Linked DNA regions of Homo sapiens: region 2 is linked to region 1. Evidence: promoter capture Hi-C in human tissues and cell types (Jung and others, 2019). All regions are on one chromosome and are shown on one strand. Each heading gives the region's core, a stretch centred on a gene start or on the middle of the fragment in contact. The rest is flanking DNA. Distances are from core to core; before and after follow the strand shown.

Region 1 (5,529 bases), core at 2,268-4,767:
CTCTCCCCAGTACAGGCTAGTTTTATGGGATAAAGCATAGCTATGGAGCTCAAGCTGCCATTCCTGATAAGGAGAAAGTGATCTAAGACCCAGGATAGGAGGCACCCAGGTCTCCTGCATGCCAGCCTGGGATGTGGAGAGTGTGTGGCCCCTCCATACCTGAGAAGGGAGCAGCCAGGAGGCAGAGAACCAGGGTAGGGCCACATCAATGGTGCCTGTGGCCGTGCCCAGCAGGTGCAGGTGTTTTCTTCTCCCATGTCAGTGCTGGTCTCTCAGGGGTGGCTGTGACCAGAAGTCACACATGGAGTGATTTTGAAATGGATCCCTGGTTTTACAGCTCCAGAGATGTGAAATGGGTGAATGATGGAGCTACACTCATGTGGCTCTTCAATGGCACAGTGAAAAAAGCAAGCAAGATGGAGCCAGATAGACCTGGGTTCAATGCCAGCAATGATTTAACCTGTGACCTGAGGCAGTAACTTCCCCTCTCTGAGCCTCAGTTTCCTCGAGGATTGGAGGGGCCCAATACTACTCACCACATGGCATTACTTTTAAGACCTAATAGGCTAACAACAAGGACTTTGCACATGGTGGCCCTGAACAAATATTTGTTTTGACCTGGCTTCCTAGCATCCCAGGAGGGGTGACCCTCTCCAATCCCCACCTCCCTAGTGAAGTTTCAAAGGACAGGTTTTTCTGGACGGGAAGGAAGAGTTTCTCTGGGCAGGAGACGGTTAAAAGCTGGGACTACGATTCCAGCCTGGGGCTGCCCCCTCCTGGCCAGCTGTCTGAACCCCTGAATTATAGATGTGCTTGCTCCTGGCCTGGCGAGCAAGAGCTAGTAGGTGCTGGGAGCCAGGCCTAGTCCAGGGTCACCTAAGGGTAGGGCCATTGGGCCAGACGCACCTCCTCACTCCACATGCAGACACACACACCGAGTCCCCTCCCAGTTCTGACTGTGCACCCACATTCACAGATATAACCTGTACACAAAGTCTATGCACAGACCACACATCTCCAAACCCCATCTACACAGCAGACACACACACAGCAAGCACACATCGAAATCACAAAGAAATCATCAGATGACACATACTGAGACATACTTAGACCTCCCCTCCCCATCCAGACACACGCAGGCAGGGTGGGCAGAGGCTCCCAACATAAAGATACAGCCACAGTCATAACTGTCATAATTAACACATATGGAGCACTTACTCTGTGCTAGGTATTGCTCTAAGCCCTTTCCAGAGAACAGTTTATTTAATTATTATGTAATAGAGATAGCTACAATTATTATACCCCCATTTTACAGATGAGGAAACTGAGGGAAGGAGAATTAAAATAAGATGCCTGAGGTCACACAGGTGTCCTGGCACAGCCTCAGGCACAGATACCCACCCCCTCGCTCTTGTCCCCCATTTACATAAACACATTCATTCAAACGCAGCATCCCCCAACCCCTGACCTGCCCGCACACACTCAGGGTGAGCGCTCTTTGGGGGACTGTTGACTAAAGACGCAAGAAATGGCCTATTGGCCAACGGGTGGTAAACTGTAACAAGAGCCGGTCCGGTGGCCCGGCGCGGTGGCTCACGCCTGTAATCCCAGCACTGTGGGAAGCCGAGGTGGGCGGATCACGAGGTCAGGAGTTCGAGACCAGCCTGACAAACATGGTGAAACCCGGTTTCTACTAAAAATACAAAAATTAGCGGGGCGTGGTGGCGCTCGCCTGCAATCTCAGCTACTCAGGAGGCTGAGGCAGGAGAATCGCTTGAACCCGGGAGGCGGAGGTTGCAGTGAGCCGAGATCGCACCATTACACTCCAGCCTGGGCGGCACAGCAAGAGTCTATCTCAAAAAAAAAAAAAAAAAAAAAAAAAAAAAAGCCGGACCGGTGAGAAGACTAGACCTCCTAAAGGTGGAGGCGGAGCTCAAAAGCCGGACGCTACTGGACGAGGCTTAAAGCGCTCGCCCCAGCGCGGGGCCGGTGAGGAACGTTCACCGTGGACCATGGTCGAATAATGTTAGCGTGCACTCGGGGCCTCGCCCTAGCCTTCTGCAAAGCCTCGGCCTGCGCCCTCGGCTGCATCCGTTTCGACGCCAACCAACCTCATGCTCTTAGTAGAACGGCAGTAGCGACCGCGCCCTCAGGCCCACAAGCCCGAAGGTCTGGGCAGGGTCTGGAATGGCGGTGGAGACACTTTATCCGCAGGCGTTTCACCTCGCGCCCCACCCAGGCGCACACCAAGTTCTTGGTACTCCTTTTAATGGGAAAACAAGAACAGACACCATGGTTGGATAAATGTTATTTATAATTCATGGGCCGGTCTTTGAACCCTTTCAAACAAAACCCACAGCGATTTCTTTGAAAGAATGCCTGGACTGTGCTCAGAGCTCTCAGATTTTCTCAGGACCAACGAGCCGCCGCCTCGCAGATACCACTGTAAATTACCCAGCGCCTTACGTTCGTTTCTGATTATTTGCATTGCAGTGGGTTTGTTAATGAAGGACAAGAGTTTAGAAAAATCTTTTATTTTGGAAGTTGGACACGCAATCGACCCCAGCAGTGTTCCTAAAAGGAGCTATGCCATTTGGATGGGGGAAAAATGAGGGGGCGGGGAAGTCCATGTTACATTTAAAACAACAACAGCAACAAATTAAAAGCAAAACAAAACAACAAAAAAAAGGAAGTGGAGCAGGAGGAGGAGGTGGTGGTGGAGGAGAGGGAGGAGGGGCAGCAGCAGCGGCAGCAGCAGCAAGGATGGAGTCAGGACCCGTCCCAGTCCCGGGTGAGCGCTTTTGGATCTGGGTTCTGGCTCAACCCACGTAATGCCCCAATCTAAAGTTTTCTACGTGTGTGTGGATAGGAAAGTCTAAATAGAGTTTATCAGAACCCAGGTGGTCATTCTCTACACTCTCTCTAGCTTGGACCCGAAGAACAAAGGCACATGAGAGGAGAAAGGTGACCAGCTGGACGATGACGGTCACGTCCAAACGGATCCCCCTTGTCCTCGGCTCTCTCGTCCTGAGAGTGGGTTTAATTTTTTTTTTTTTAATTTATATAAGAAGGGAGCTCTTAAAGGAGAGCCATCTCCACCCTCAGGTATCCATCACCCAGCTCCAGCGCGCCTGGGAAAACCGCCCCGAAAGTCCAAGAGGAAGCTCAGAGTTGTAACGGCCGCGGAGCCAGCTCGGCGGTGACGCAAGGTCCAGTCCAGATTGCCAGGCCCGGGGCATGAGAGAGGATCCTTGTAGGTTTCGGAGGTGGGGGGGCTGCACTCCATTGTTCACTCCGGGCCAATCAGGGTTGGCCCACTTCCTCCCAGCCAATCTCCCTTCACCCCCAGCCTCCAACCCAACCCACCCCGCCCATCAGCCCCTGGATCCCCATCACCTCCCCCGCATCCCCGGCAGTTCTGGGGAAGCTTCGTGACGCCACAGGTCCCGCCCCCAGCTCCGGCCCGGGGCTAGTGCGTGTTGACGTCATGCTGCGTGCGGGCCGGTGCGGAATCGCTCCTTCAACTCCGCGGGGCAGTAGGAGTTAGTTAGCAAAGAGCCGAGGCCGGGCGCGCGACCCTCGTCCTTCTGCCCCTGGCCGCACACTTTGCGCACATCTCTTTTTCTGCATGGTGGATATTATTTTTCATTATCCTTTTCTGGGTGCTATGGGTGATCATTCCAAGAGTAAGTATTTCTGTGTGTGTGTGGGGTGGGGTGTGTGTGTATGCTTAATATGCAAAATTTCTAATGCAGAAAAATGTTTAGTGGATTCTACAAGTGGCTTCTATTTGTCAGAATAGTTTAGGAGAGGAAAAACGAATGCATGTCTCCTGCAGGACTGCTTATCTTTGGGAATCCTGTTGTTTTATTTTATAAGTAAACACTATTTCTCAAGCCGGCTAGGATGACTTCGGGCTGCGAAATCTGCTTCTGTTTTGCGCAAAGGCAATTAGGTTTGATTTAGGGATGTGGGTTTTTTTTTTTTTGGTTGTTGTTTGTTTGCCTTTCGGTTTTTCAAAGCTAGGAAGCTTTCTTTCGCTTGCTCTGGGATATTTAAACTAAGAAATGTCTGAGAGGATGAGCGGGGACTGCCGAAAGACGATGTGTCTGTGTTGGGATAGGAGGCAGCCGCTGTGAGTGGGAGTGTGTGAGCGGAAATGCCAGGACAGCACCGTTAGGTGTTGATATCCAGGCGTCCGCAGTGCCTGTGTATTTACTCTCTTCTTAGTTTCGTGTTTGCGTTTAGTTTCAAGACACGTCGACAAAACGACTGTCATTAATGAATGTAATAACGAAATATTTGGGGTGGGGGACAGAAGAAACCTTCAGCAATCCACAAGATACTGGTTTTTCGTTTCCAATGCCCTGGACCTTTAGAGAGCTCATCATCTTTCCTTATGGTCGCAAGTCTTGAAAGAAAGAGCAAGAGAGCGAGCGGGTTGGGTTGGGGCTGGAGTAGCCGAGGCCGGCCTGGGTCCGGGCAGTCAGGCCTGACGCGGCCCCGCGCCCTTCCCCGGCAGAGAAGCCCGGGACGGCCATGTGCGTGGGCTGCGGGAGTCAGATCCACGACCAGTTTATCCTGCGGGTGTCGCCCGACCTCGAGTGGCACGCGGCCTGCCTCAAGTGTGCCGAGTGCAGCCAGTACCTGGACGAGACGTGCACGTGCTTCGTGAGAGACGGGAAGACCTACTGCAAGCGGGACTATGTCAGGTGAGGCCGGCGGGAACGCGGGCTGGGCCACCGCGCGCAGGGGCCGGGGCCGGGACTGGGGATGGCGGCCTGCCCGCGCGCCCCGGCCCTGCCCAGGGAGAAGGCCATCCGCATCCCGCACGGGTGCCGCAGCGCTCCCCCGGGCCCGGGAATGCCCGCAGGCGGGTCACCGCAGTCTCCTGGTGGCCACAAAGTGTCCTGGGCGCGCGCCGGAGCCGTAGCAGCCAGGGAGATGAGGGCGGCCGCAGGCCCAGCGCTGACACCGCCGCACCTTGGGCCCGCAGGCTGTTCGGCATCAAGTGCGCCAAGTGCCAGGTGGGCTTCAGCAGCAGCGACCTGGTGATGAGGGCGCGGGACAGCGTGTACCACATCGAGTGCTTCCGCTGCTCCGTGTGCAGCCGCCAGCTGCTGCCTGGGGACGAGTTCTCGCTGCGGGAGCACGAGCTGCTCTGCCGCGCCGACCACGGCCTCCTGCTCGAGCGCGCCGCGGCCGGCAGCCCGCGCAGCCCCGGCCCGCTTCCCGGCGCCCGCGGCCTGCATCTGCCCGGTAAGCGCGCCGGGGCCTGTGCCGGGGTGAGCGGGGTGTATGTGCGTGCGTGTGTGTAGGGGTACGCTTGTGTCCCTAACGAGAAGTTGTCAGTTGTGTGTGGTTCCGTCTGCCGGGATAGTGTTTTTCTGTATCAGTGCGGAACTGTGTGCTGGGAACAAGGCTGTGTGTATTCTCGTGTGCTCGGGAGAAACTGCGTGTGTATGAGTGTGTGAGCACGGAGAATTGTGCAGAATCGTGTTCTCCATGACCAGGAACATGCAGGGCACA
Region 2 (5,529 bases), core at 1,405-3,904, 1.1 Mb after region 1:
CTAAAAGATTGTACTGATTTTTAATGATAACAGCAATGTATAAGGATGTTGTTTTCACCACGATTTTACCAGCAAAAATATTTGGCTAGTTGAACACACATAAAATTATTGTTCTCTTTGCTTATAATCTGATAAGTGTTTCCATACCTTGGAACCTGGATCTGTTGGAACATGAAGGAATTCAGGACCCTTATACATGTTACCCCATATGGCTTCTTTAAAGGATATGGATTTTTGAGGATCCTAGAAATCAAAATTCTCTAATTTTATTCAGCTCAAAAAAAAATTTTATTCAGTGCTGCTGTCCTTATTTTCTGAATAATATTCAGATTCAGACCACACTGAGCCATAATTCCAATTCCCACTTGACTAACATTTATGTAGTATTGTGCTAGGCACTACATGTTATCTTAATTCTAATAATTTGGCATTTTTCCATATGAGAAAAATAAGATTTAGAAAGATTAGATTACTTGCCCAAAATCACTTAACCAGTAAGTGGTAGAGACAGGATTTGAATGCAGATCCTCTAAGGCCAGTGTTTATTCTCATACTGCATGATCCCTCAGTATCACTACTAAAATTTACTGGAGGATAATGGAAAGTGGAAAATCTGAACTGGAACTTGGGACAATCAAGCACTGACTTACCTGTGTTCATAATGAAGCATTTAGCAGAGATGTTGTTTGTTGTTTTGTTTTGTTTTTACTGGGGAGGCTATAGTACATAAACAGAGCGAAAGATCTTGGTATGGTTAAACCCACATTTTCAAGGCCTTCTGTGTTCTCCCTGATGATCAGGTACCTACTACCCCAAAATCTGTGATGGTAACAAAGAAGGAGGAAGGCAGCTGTAGAAAAGCAACGGCCTTTGGGTATACCCAGTAAGATTTATGTGATTGTAGAAAGAGCAGGCAAATGGCTTGGCCTTCAGAGAATCCCACAAAGTAAAGTAACCTTTTAAAATAGTAACTTAAAGTCTGACATAAGATTCTTAACAGGATATTCATCACAAGATAAGATATTCAAAGCATAGCGTGTAAGACATTCAAAGCATATCAGCAAAAAAGGAGAGATTCCTTCATTTTTATTGAAGTATGGTATACTCACAAAACAAATTTAATATCAGGAATATAAAACAAGAGATACGATGTTCCAATTCTGGCTTTAGTCGGATATTATAAAATTTAATCCCAATTTATAGATAAGGCAATTCAAGGCTCGAGATTACACACCAAATAAGTGGACTCTAGGCTGGGTGTGGTGGCTTCTGTAATCCCAACACTTTGGGAAGCCAAGGCAGAAGGATCGCCTTAGCTCAGGAGTTTGGGACCGGCTTGGGTAACATAGTGAGATGCTGTCTCTACAAAAAAATAAAAAATAGCCAGACATGGTGGTATATACACATGTGGTCATAGCTACTCAGGAGGCTGAGGCCAGAGGATCGCATAAGCCCAGGAGTTCAAGGCTGTGAGCTGTTATCGAGCCACTGCACTCCAACCTGGGCTACAGAGCAAGACTCTGTCTCAAAAAAAAAAAAAAAGGAGGGGGGAGCCTCTAGAACATAGGCCTTTAATCTGTGTGGTTGTTTTGCAATTTATATGTATAATTTTTAAATAATATGTTGGCCGGGCACAGTGGTTTGTATCTATAATCTCAACACTTTGGGAGGCTGAGACAGGAGGATTGCTTGAGGCCAGGAGTTTGAGACTAACACAGGCAACATAGCAAGACCCCATCTCTACTAAACAAAATAATAATAATTTAATATGGTGGGTTTTTTTGTTTTTTTTGTTTTTTTGAGACGGAGTCTTGCTCTGTCTCCCAGGCTGGAGTGCAGTGGCGCTAGTGAGCTCATGCAATTCTCCTGCCTCAGCCTCCCAAGTAGCTGGGATTACTAGCGCTTGCCTGCTTCAAAAGAAATGATTTCCAGCACCCCATTTTTTCTTTTCCAGCCTCAAAATTCATATCTCCTTTTTTTCCCCCATGTCCACATGTCCTTCATTCCTATACTTCATAGCTTTAATTCCTGTTCTCTTGATACAAACCTTCATGTTTGTTGCTTGATGGCATCATAATTATCATAACTTTTTGGCTTAATAACAGTAGCAGTTATATCAACAAATAATAAAATGTTCATACTTTTGAGCCAATAATTCCACATATAGAACTTCATTCTGAGAAAATACTTTAAATAAGAAAAATAGTTAAAGGCACAAAATGTTAATAGCACTGATATCTATACTGTCTAAAACTTGAAACCTTCTAAATATTCAACAATATAATAATGCCTAAGCAAATTATTGCCTATCTACTCAGTGGGCTGTAAGACATTCATTTTTCACAATAGCGTCTTTAAGAATACATTGAAAGATGTTGTAAGAATGTTTTTGCAAAAATGAAAAGGAGAAACATCAGAAGAAAAAGTAGAAAAACTAATGTGATTGGTGTCTATTTCTGAAGCATTTATATTTTCTATATAATAATAATTTACATTTACTGACCACTTACTTGTGTCAGGAACAATACTCAAGCAACATTATAGAAGCAACAATTTGTAGTTATTGAAAACTGGTGTTCTAGAATCAAATCTGAGCTTCATCACTTACTAATATGTGGTCTTGAAAAGGAAATGGAGGATAACTATGTCTACATTAAATTATTAAATCTATATAAAGTATTTGGCACATACAAAACCTACAATAAGAATGTTTTTGTTATCAGACATTTTATAAATATGTCTCATTTAATCTTCACATCCTCACAGTAACCTCATTAGATAGTGTTAACGTTCATTTTACATGAAAGAAAATTGAAACTTCAAATGTTTAAATACTCTAGGTTAAATAACTTGCCGAATCACTTAACTAATAAGCAGTAGAGTTTTTATTCAGAGCCCAAGCTATGGTTTCCACTTATGACTCTGAGAGATGAGGTTGCTGCAGACTAATGCTTTTGCTAAGAACAGGAAAGATGAGAATTAAAAAGAAAAGTGAAGGCATCAGAGACCTGCTGAGGCATCCAGGACTTAAGAAACCACAACCATAGAACCAAAGGAGCTTCAGAGAAGTGGGCTGATGTTCCATGCTTCTCTTTTTTCCTAGGAATTTGCTAATTCTTAGAGCATGACAAGATGCTGTGAAACTTAGCAGAGGGTTTCTTCTAAAAGCAGAGAAGCTGTTAGTTTTATGGGGCGGAGCAGACAAAACTTGGATTTTAGAGATCTCCAGGTAGCTAGTTCTTGGGTCAAGATCCCTAGAGAAGGACAGTACCCAGAAACTTTTTTAAAACTTGTTTTCCCCTCACAGTGTTTGCTAGGCAGAGTCTAGAACTGTAAGAAAGTTAATTTGTATTGCTTTAAGCCAATAGCTTTGGATAACTTGTGACAGCAACAATATGAAACTATTACAGAGACATGAGGAAATGATGAAGAAGTCTAACATACATATGACTGGAGGAGAGAAAGTTAGAAGCAGTAATATTTTAAGAGACAGTGATTGAGAATTTTCTAAAACCGATGACAAATATCAAGCCATGGATTTGAAAAGTGCAAGAAACGACAAGCAGAATAAATACAAGGAGTACCACACTTTCATTCTTCATAGTAAAAATAAAACTGTTGAAAGTAACCAGAGGAAAAAAGACACATAATCTTCAAAGGAACAATTAGACTGACATCTGACTTGTCAACAGAAATAATGGGGGCCAGAAAACAATACAATGTAACTTTTTTGTTTGTTTTTTTGCTTTTACCTACTTGGTTTATTTATTTTTTATTTTATTTTATTTTATTTTGAGATGGAGTCTCCCTCTGTCACCCAGGCTGGAATGCAGTGGCGTGATCTCAGCTCACTGCAACCTTTGCCTCCTGTGTTCAAGCGATTCTCCTGCCTCAGCCTTCCAAGTAGCTGGGATTACAGGTGCATGCCACCACACCCAGCTAATTTTTGTATTTTTAGTAGAGACAAGGTTTCACCATGTTGGCCAGGCTGGTCTCGAAGTCCTGACCTCAGGTGATTTGCCTGCCTTGGCCTTCCAAAGTGCTAGAATTACAGGCATGAGCTACCATGCCCAGCTGGTTTTTTTTGTTTTTTTAATTGACAAAAATTATATGTATTTATCATGTACAGCATGATGTTTTGAAATATGTATACATTGTGGAATAGCTAAATTGCGCTAATTAACATATGTATTACCTCACACAATTTATGTGGTAAAAACACTGAGCATCTACTCTCTTAGCAATTTTCAAGAATATAATACATTGTTATTAACTATAGTTAACATGTTGTACAATAGATATCTCAAACTTATTCCTCCTATCAAACTGAAATTTTGTGTCCTTTGACCAACATCTTCCCAGCCCCACCCCACCCCTGGTAACTACCATTCTACTCTATACTTCCATGAGTTCAGGTTTTCTAGATTCCACATATGAGATCATATGGTATTTGTCAGTGCCAGGCTAATTTCACTTAACAGATAATGCCCTCCAGGCTCATTCATTTTGTTGCAAATGACAGGATTTCCTTCCTTTTTTTAAAGCTGAATAGTATTCCATTGTGCGTATATACCACATTTTCTGTGTTCATCTGTTGATGGATACTGAGGCTGATTCCATATCTTGGCTATTGTGAATAATCTGGCAATAACCCTGAGAGTGCAGATATCTTTTCAACATAGTGATTTCATTTCCCTTGGATATATTCTCAGAGAATGCAACCTTTAAGTTCCTTAAAGAAAATAACTGCCAATCTAGAAATCACGATGGCAATTAGAACACATTTACAACAGCGTGATTATGAAAATACATGTGAATCAGTTAAAGATATACTCAATGAAAAATTTATAGCCTTAAATGCATATATTAGAATAGAAAAAAGTAAAAAATCAGTTATCTAAATACCCATCAAGGTAGGAAAAGAACAGCAAATTAAACCCAAAGTAAGTAGAAGAAAGGAAATAATAAAAAAATAGAAATCAATGAAATAGAAAACAAATTGTTGGCCAGTCGCAGTGGCTCACGCCTGTAATCTCAGCACCTTGGGAGGCCGAGGTGGGTGGATCACCTGAGGTCAGGAGTTTGAGACCAGCTTGGCCAACATGGCAAAAGCCCATCTCTATTAAAAATACAAAAATTAGCTGGGCGTAGTGGCAGGTGCCTGTAATCCCAGCTACTCAGGAGGCTGAGGCAGGAGAATCACTTGAACCCTGGAGGCGGAGGTTGCAGTAAGCCGAGATCGCGCCATTGCACTCCAACCTGGGCAACAAGAGCGAAACTCCGACTCAAAAAAAAAAAAAAAAAAAGACAACAAATTGGCATTAGGAAATAACAAGACCAAAAGTTGGTTCCTTAAAAAGATTAGTAAAATGCATAGACCTCTAGCAATATTGATAAAGAAAAAAAAAAGAGCATAAATTACCAGTATCAGGAATGAAAAGGGAAAATTTCTTTACAGATTCTACAGATGTCAAAAAGGTAGGAAGATACTATGAACAACCTTACATAGACAGATTTGAAATTTTAGAT

The links. Contacts are between HindIII fragments. The study calls those that stand out against the background at their distance.
Region 2: a fragment that was not itself captured here is called in contact with the fragment with the promoter of ISL2 in region 1 in 1 of the 25 tissues and cell types used here (lymphoblastoid cells).

What each region holds. Positions count from the first base shown.
Region 1 is chr15:76,333,256-76,338,784 of GRCh38, forward strand. It overlaps ISL2 (ISL LIM homeobox 2), which reads left to right and starts at 3,518. Exons shown (of 6, transcript NM_145805.3): 1 at 3,518-3,686; 2 at 4,523-4,712; 3 at 4,997-5,259. The coding sequence starts at 3,629. RefSeq lists enhancers at 3,253-3,547, 3,359-3,858, 3,552-3,601, 4,027-4,838. The HindIII fragment of the contact is 8,596 bases long and covers 1-5,529 here.
Region 2 is chr15:77,427,436-77,432,964 of GRCh38, forward strand. All of the region lies in intron 1 of HMG20A (high mobility group 20A), which reads left to right. Among named protein-coding and RNA genes, the nearest start is that of HMG20A, 9.3 kb to the left of the region's middle. RefSeq lists an enhancer at 2,915-3,014. The HindIII fragment of the contact is 8,562 bases long and covers 1-5,529 here.